Regions from separate parts of the Homo sapiens genome. Here regions 1 and 2 are each linked to region 3. The links are contacts of gene promoters, found by promoter capture Hi-C in blood cells and fetal thymus (Javierre and others, 2016). All regions are on one chromosome and are shown on one strand. Each heading gives the region's core, a stretch centred on a gene start or on the middle of the fragment in contact. The rest is flanking DNA. Distances are from core to core; before and after follow the strand shown. Region 1 has its middle 20 kb from the start of KRT18. Region 2 has its middle 17 kb from the start of EIF4B. Region 3 holds the start of KRT82 (keratin 82).

Region 1 (2,700 bases), core at 190-2,689, 560 kb before region 3:
GAGGATTACAAAGCCCTTCTTCAAAGGAGAGGTTGAAAGTGGTGCCCGGGTTCTATAAACATTTGCACTGAGCATTCCTAAATGACAGGGAGATTTATAGTTTGAGTGCCTTCCCATTACGAAGACTGTTTAAGTGACTTGGGAAAGTTTCTTTAAAAAGAAAAAAAAATGGAGCAGATTAAGATGAGATTTTATTTTTCTTTTTTTCCTTAAAAAGAAAAAAAGGCTAGGCGAGGTGGCTCATGTCTGTAATCCAAAGGCTAGGTGAGGTGGCTCATGTCTGTAATCCCAGAACTTTGGGAGGCCGAGGTAGGTGGATCATTTGAGGTCAGGCGTTTGAGACCAGCTTGGCCAACGTGGTGAAATCCTTGTCTCTACTAAAAATACGAAAATTAGCTGGGCGTGGTGGTGCACACCTGTAATCCCAGCTACTGGAGAGGCTGAGGCGGGAGAATCGCTTGAATCTGGGAGGTGGAGGTTGCAGTGAGCTGAGAAGCCGAGACCACGCCACTACACTCCAGCCTGGGTGACAGAGTAAGACTCCGTCTCAAAAAAAAAAAAAAAAACAAATTCTTCCTGGGCTTTCTTAAAGCTGGGGTGTGTGTGAAGCGAAGCTGAGGAAGTTCAATTGTTCTCCCACTAAGTTCTCTTTCCTGGAACAAAGAGGACCTGCAAAGAGAGTGAGAGGACTGCTGGCATCTTGAAATATTCTTCTACTCTCCTTTGTCCTCTTTTCCTTGGGTGAGGCATGCAGAGACTCCTCTTGGTTTGTTATTTGCTCATTTATTTGTTCATTCATTTGCTTATTCATTCAAAAGCTAGTAAGAGAAGATTGTTAAATTTGAAAATTTTGCTTCCCAGAATTAAACCATTTTAAATCAACCATGACAGCAGTATTTATACCTTGGATATTGGCAAATGCTATAGGTTATTAAATAAAATAAAATAACATTTTATTTACAATTTAATAAAAATTACAATTTCAAATTTTTGTCTTTAAAAAAGAAAATAACAACCTGCTGTTTATGTGTTGGAATTGTGTTATGTATCAGGGCATAAGAGTGAACAAGATAGTCCAGTCTCTGCTCAAAGGGAGCTTACAGTCTGGTGCTGCACTGTCCTGTCCAATCTGGTAGCCATTAGCTACTAGCTACTGCTGTGGTTATTAATTTATTTTTTAAAGTTTTTAATTTTGGCTGAGTCTGGTGGCTCATGCCTGTAATCCCAGCGCTTTGGGAGGCCGAGGCAGGTGGATCACCTGAGGTTAGGAGTTCGAGACCAGTCTGGCCAACATGGCGAAACCCCGTCTCTACTCCAAATCCAAAAAAAAAAAAAAAAAAAAAAAATTAGCCAGGTGTGGTGGTGGGCGCCTGTAATCCCAACTACTCGGAAGACTGAGGCAGGAGAATCACTTGAACCTGGGAGGCGGAGGTTGCAGTGAGCCGAGATTGAGCCAGTGCACTCCAGCCTGGGCAACAAGAGTGAAACTCTGTCTCAAAAAAAAAAAAGTTTTTAATTTTTGTGGGTACCCAGTATGTGTATCTATTTTAGGGTACACGAGATATTTTGATACAGGCATACAATGCATAATAATCTCATCAGGGCATCCATCACTTCAAGCATTTATCCTTTATGTTACAAACAATCCAATTATACTCTTTTAGTTATTTTTAAATGTACAATAATTTATTTTTTTTGAGACGGAGTCTTGCTCCATTGCCCAGGCTGGAGTGCAATGGCATGATCTTGGCTCACTGCAACCTCTGCCTCTCGGGTTCAAGCAATTCCCCTGCCTCAGCCTCCCGAGTAGCTGGGATTACAGGCATGCACCACCATGCCTGGCTAATTTTTGTATTTTTAGTAGAGACGGGGTTTTACCATGTTGGTCAGGCACGTCTTGAACTCCTGTCCTTGTGATCTGCCCGCCTCAGCCTTCCAAAGTGCTGGGATTACAGGCATGAGCCACTGCACCCAGCCTTAGGCTGGTGCTTTTTAAACTTTTTTTGCTTCTGGGGAGTGGGTGATAGGGAAAGTTCTGCCAGCCTGGGAGGGGCCCACTAGAGCCTGCTGCTCCAGTGTGGATTGTGGGGAGAGGAAAAGGAACTGTGTGCTTTGGGCCCAGATCACTGGAGTGCCCTGAGTCTCTGAGAAGTTTACCCTACATCCCTCCTGTGGCAGCACCATCCACTTCACCAGGATCTGACCAGGGCCTTCAGGGGGACACAGCCTCCCCGGATCTGAGCATCACTATCATTCTAATTCCTTGGGCTGTTTCTGTGTAGATAATTATTTTCCAGCTCATTCAGGCAGGTGAGGTTGAGGCCAGCAGTGCAGCTAAATCCTTACACCGTGACTGGGGCTGCTTTTATACAGGTTAGGGGAAGAATAATCACTTATGGCTGAAATCTAATGGAAGAGGGAGTTCTGTGTAACTCTAGTGGGCAGAGCTGAGTTTAGAAGGTTAGTAGGAGGCAGATTTCAGCCCAGTAGAAGGAACAATAATGTTCCAGTAATTATACAATTATTATCCAACAGGGGCTATACTGTCATAAATTCTTCAAACGGAGGCCAGATGTTAGGAAGGCCACAAAGAGGATTCCTACTGGGAGAGGCCAAACTTGAACCATCTGTTTATTTATTTTATTTTATTTATTTATTTTTTTGAGAATGGAGTTTCACTCTTGTCACCCAGGCTGGAGT
Region 2 (2,700 bases), core at 191-2,690, 580 kb before region 3:
GCAAGGGAGAAGGTGGTAGGGGTTCCTATCCTTCCCTTCTCCTCCGTCCCCATGAACTCCGCTCTAACTATGACTTTCCTTTCCCCTCTGTGCTGCTTCAGGAATTGTCCCACTTGAGTTCATCTCCGCCCATCCACCTAGCACATAGTTCCTGGATAAATCTCCCTGAAAGAGCGCTCTTACTGTGTCACCACATCTCTTTCCAAGGCCCTACTCTCCAGCATTGAAAGCTCTGCATGAACTGCCCTCAGCTTGCTTTTCCTACTATATCTGTCACCTCAACTTCTGCCTGGCCCGGAGCGGACGCTGGGCTTTTCCATGTTACTCATCATTCTCTTCATCTGGAATGCCTGCTCCCTCTTAGTCTTGCCAAATCCTTTGCAGGAGAAGCCCCTCCTACTTCAAGACATCTTCCCAAGACATCCTGTTGGCCTGGTCTCCCATTTAGTTGTGTATTTGGCTTATTTTATCCAGGTGGTATTTTATACACAGTTTTTTTCCTCTTCTTCAGGGCCTTGTAACATGTAAACCTCATTTCTGTTTTGGTTTTTTTTTGTTGTTTGTTTTTGTGTGTGTGTGTGTGTGTGTTTTTTTTTTGAGACGGAGTCTCGCTCTGTTGCCCAGGCTGAGGTGAAGTGGTGCGACCTTGGCTCACTGCAACCTCCACCTCCTGGGTTCAAGCAATTCTCCTGCCTCAGCCTCCTGAGTAGCTGAGACTACAGGTGTGTACCACCATGCCTGGCTAATTTTTGTATTTCTAGTAGCAATGGGGTTTCGCCATGTTGGTCAGGCTGGTCACAAACTCCTGACCTCAGGTGATCCACTTACCTCGTCCTCCTAAAGTGCTGGGATTACAGGCATGAGCCACCACGTCCAGCAGTTTTTGTTGTTTTTTAGAGTCAGAGTCTTGCTCTGTTGCCCACACTAGGGTGCAGTGGTGCAATCATGGCTTACTGCAACCTTGAACTCCTGGGCTCAAGCAATCCTCCTGCCTCAGCCTCCTGAGTAGCTGGACTACAGGCATGCACCACCACACCCAGTTAACTTCTAAAATTTTTTGTATAGATGGGTGTCTTGCTATGTTGCCCAGGCTGATCTCAAACTCCTGGCCTCAAGTGATCCTTCTGCCTTGGTCTCTCAGAGTGCTGGGATTACAGGTGTGAGCCACTGCACCCAGCCTAAACCTGTTTTTTTAATGTTCTTCTACTTTTTTTTTTTTTTTTGAGACAGAGTCTTGCTCTGTCACTGGGCTGGAGTGCAGTGGTGTGATCTCAGCTCACTGCAACCTCTGCCTCCCGGGTTCAAGCAATTCTCCTGCCTCAGCCTCCTGAGTAGCTGGAACTACAGGCGTGTGCCACCACGCCCAGCTAATTTTTGTATTCTTAGTGGAGATGGGGTTTCACCATGTTGGCCAGGATGGTCTCGATCTCTTGACTTCGTGATCCGCCTGCCTCGGCCTCCCAGAGTGCTGGGATTACAGGCATGAGCCACCACGCCCGGTCGTTTTGTTTATTTTTCTAATGAAGATTTCTGCTTGGGGAGTTCAGGTGGGGCTTTTTCTTGAGTAAATCCAACCACCTCTACCAAAGACTCTGTAGTTCCCACTTCCTGGGTTGGAGATTGTTAGTCAAAGGAGGAACTGGTGAGGACTTTGGCTAGAAATTTCCCACGTGGTATTTCAAAACCAAACCCAATTCTGGACCCAGACAGGAGAGCAGTTTGGGGTTGCTTATTAGGACAGGCTTGTTTGACACTAGCATACTAAAGTTCTCCTTCTTTTCCTTCTTACTTTCCAGTTCAGACTTTTGAATGATGGGGTATGTTTGAGAAGCAACTAAAAACCCAACCTCTGCCCCTTGGGAGTTTATTACAAATTTATAGTTAGTTGTATTTTCTTGGCAGGTATTGATAAGAAAGTAATTCACCTGATTAATGTTTTTATTGTATATCTGTGGATAAATGAGTAATGAATATATAAATAGTGGAGTATTATCTAATAGACAAATCAAAGGTAAATGTAATAGAGGAAGGAGCTATGGATAAACTCATCACAGAGCTGGGTCAAGTTACACTTTCTCCCACCTTGATCTTGTGTCTGTCTTAGTCAGTTCTGCTGTAACAAATTACTATAGACAGGGTGGCTTAAACAACAAACATTTCTTTTTTGTTTTTGAGACGGAGTCTCACTCTGTCGCCCAGGCTGGAGTGCAGTGGCTGGTGCAATCTCGACTCACTGCAACCTCCACTTCCCAGGTTCAAGCAATTCTCCTGCCTCAGCCCTCCGGAGTAGCTGGGACTACAGGGACCCACCACCACACCTGGCTCATTTTTATATTTTTAGACGGGGTTTCACCAGGTTTGCCAGGCTACTCTCGAACTCCTGACCTCAGGTGATCTCAGGTGATCCACTCACCTCGGCCTCCAAAAGTGCTGGGATTACAGGCGTGAGCCACCGCGCCCGGCCAACAACAAACATCTCTTTCTTTCTTTTTTTTTTTCTGAGACACAGTTTCGCTCTTGTCACCCAGGCTGGAGTGCAATGGCATGATCTCAGCTCACTGCAACCTCCGCTTCCTGGGTTCAAGTAATTCTCCTGCCTCAGTCTCCCAAGTAGCTGGGATTACAGGCATGTACCACCATGCTTAGCTAATTTTTGTATTTTTGTATTTTTTTTTGATGGAGTCTCGCTCTGTTGCCCAG
Region 3 (2,700 bases), core at 12-2,511:
TGATCAGCCACAAGCTGTGTGACTTGGGGATGTTGCTCTTAACTGCTGTGCTTCCCATTTTCCTGTCTGTGGCATAGTAACTATCTCATTGTGTGGTCAGAGAATTAAATGAGACCATGGATGTAAAGAGTACGGAGTGGTCCCAACACACAATAAATGCCCAATAAATGTTTATTATTGTTATTATTATTATTATTGGTTTGATTTTGACCTGGTGATAAGTCTCAGTGTGGAAGGGAAAGGCCATTCGGCCATGGCAAAAGTTTCACTGATGAAATTGATGGAAAAGAGGAGGAAAGAGAGTGAGGCGGGGGCTTCAGACATCTCCAAAGAGCTGTGTCTGCGACCTGAGCTGGAAAGAAAACCTGAATCCCACCTCCACCTGAAAATTCCCAAGGGCAACAACTCTCCCCAGAGACATCCTCAGGCCAAAGCTGGCTCTGTTGACCTCAGGGACACTCAGGCTGGGTTGGGCAAAAGGGGAAAGGAACAGCCACATGGAAGCCGAGACCTGATGCTGAAATCATGCCTTCTGGGGGCCCCAGAAGTGTTGAGGAGAGCGTCCCTTCCTCTGCCCTTCTCAAGCACCAGGCCTCTCCTCTTGAGTTCCCTGCAGCCTTTGTGGACTGATGGGCCCTGTAGAAAAGTGTCTATGCCTGGAGTCTGTCTACCTTCAAGACCCTCATGGGACAGTGGGTCACTGAGCCAGAGCTCAGGAGGGTTAAGGTCCGGCCTGTTGTAGGGAGGATTCTCCCACCCCAAAAGCCTTCCTCCTGGGAACTTCCTGACTCACCTAGGAGCCCACAGAGGGCACTTGGGTTGAGGATCTGCAAAAAAGCCTAGGAGCAGCCTTGGGGAAAGAGCCAGAGCATCTTTAAGCATATGGGACTTGCCCTCTAATCCCAGAGAAGCCAGGGTGTATAATTCATGGCACGCCTCCCCTCCTATGAAATGACGTAGTCCCAACTCTCCCTTTCCTTGAGGCTGAGCCACTGGATACATGGAACATATCTGTCTGGTTGGCCCCTTTCATCACCCCCACAATCAAGGAAGGAGGACAAATAGGATTTTTATAGGGCCCACCAGCACTGACCATTGGCCCCTTCTCTTTGCTCTTCGCTACCCTAATTATCCACCTTGCTACTTAGCTCTGCCAATATCCCAAGCTCATAAACCTAGTTTAATGGTGATTTGGGGTTTGACACATCTCAGTCCTCCATCCCCCTACCAGATAAAAGGGGGGAAGCTGAGCCTGACTTGATCATCCTGCCCCGGTTCTTTCCTCCAGGGCCGCATTTCTCTGCCTCTCTCTCCTGCCATGTCGTACCACTCTTTCCAGCCAGGCTCCAGGTGTGGCAGTCAGAGTTTCAGCTCATACTCGGCTGTCATGCCCCGGATGGTCACCCACTATGCAGTGAGCAAGGGGCCATGCCGGCCCGGGGGTGGTAGGGGCCTCCGAGCTCTGGGCTGCCTTGGCTCACGGAGCCTGTGCAACGTGGGCTTTGGGAGGCCCCGGGTAGCCTCCAGGTGTGGAGGTACCCTGCCTGGCTTCGGGTACCGACTGGGAGCCACCTGTGGGCCTTCTGCCTGCATCACCCCTGTCACCATCAATGAGAGCCTGCTGGTCCCACTGGCACTGGAGATAGACCCGACTGTGCAGAGGGTAAAGAGGGATGAGAAGGAGCAGATCAAGTGCCTCAACAACCGTTTCGCATCTTTCATCAACAAGGTAAGGGGGCAGTGGCCCAGGGCCGTGAGAGGACCCACTGCAGATCTGGGGTCTGGTCTTGTTCTGGTCCAAGGGAACCAGGAGGAGACTGACATTGAGGAGGCCTCAGTTTATCCAGTGGCCTCCCTCACATTCCACGACCACCAGCCTTTGAAAGCCAGTTAGATCAGATTCTGCACTAAACATTTCTGCTTCCTTGTCTTTCTTAAAATATATCATCTTTCTCTGAATATTATCTGACAAAATCACCAATCACCAAGGTTGCCTGAGGTCAGACTATAAGAGGAACTTCCAAAGCAATACTGAAAGGAATGACCAGAGAGGCAGAGAAATGCCCTTCCTGATGAGGCTTTAACAGTAGAACCGCCTTCTGTGTGCCTGAGCTGTGTCACAACTCTTGAGCCTGAAGGTGAGGATGGACACTGTGACCTCAGAGTTTCCAATCATTTTAGGCCTGGGATGAGAGGAAAGTGGACAGTCAGAGCTAGAGGCACAGGGTGACGGTCACAAAAGTCTTACATCTGTCATCTCCAGAGCCACTGAAAGGCTGCTAGGAAGGCATGCCTTCAGAAGGTGCTGAACTGAATCTGCACCCACTGCAGGAACAGTGCAGATTCCCACATCTACAGCACAGCACCCACTGCAGGAACAGTGCAGATTCCCACATCTACAGTATAGCACCCACTGCAGGAAGAGCGCAGATTCCCACATCTACAGTACAGCACCCACTGCAGGAAAAGATGTGGCATGCCTTCTGAAGGTGCTGAAGGACTCAACAGCCTCTGGGTCCATCCCACGCCCCAGGGAGGCTCTTGGGGTGAGGATTCATTCCACAGTTTGAGCTGGTGTTTCTGGTGACCGTAAGGTTTAGGGGCAAGAGTCCTGGGCCAGAGGTCAGGAGCCCTGGCCACTGGCATTGACTCTACTCCTACACCCGGAATCCCCGGGCAAGCCATTCACCTCTTGGCCTT

Evidence for each region. Contacts are between HindIII fragments. The CHiCAGO score rates a contact against its expected background, and 5 or more counts as called.
Region 1: a contact is called between a fragment that was not itself captured here and the fragment with the promoter of KRT82 in region 3, in 7 of 17 cell types (M2 macrophages, M1 macrophages, M0 macrophages and 4 more). The highest score is 10.4, in M2 macrophages.
Region 2: a fragment that was not itself captured here is called in contact with the fragment with the promoter of KRT82 in region 3 in 3 of 17 cell types (M2 macrophages, M0 macrophages and naive CD8 T cells); the score reaches 6.1 in M2 macrophages.

What each region holds. Positions count from the first base shown.
Region 1 is chr12:52,967,301-52,970,000 of GRCh38, reverse strand. No RefSeq gene overlaps it. Among named protein-coding and RNA genes, the nearest start is that of KRT18, 20 kb to the right of the region's middle. The HindIII fragment of the contact is 7,174 bases long and covers 1-2,700 here.
Region 2 is chr12:52,988,037-52,990,736 of GRCh38, reverse strand. No RefSeq gene overlaps it. Among named protein-coding and RNA genes, the nearest start is that of EIF4B, 17 kb to the left of the region's middle. The HindIII fragment of the contact is 7,088 bases long and covers 1-2,700 here.
Region 3 is chr12:52,404,896-52,407,595 of GRCh38, reverse strand. KRT82 (keratin 82) reads left to right here and starts at 1,261. Exons shown (of 9, transcript NM_033033.4): 1 at 1,261-1,729. The coding sequence starts at 1,319. The HindIII fragment of the contact is 6,676 bases long and covers 1-2,700 here.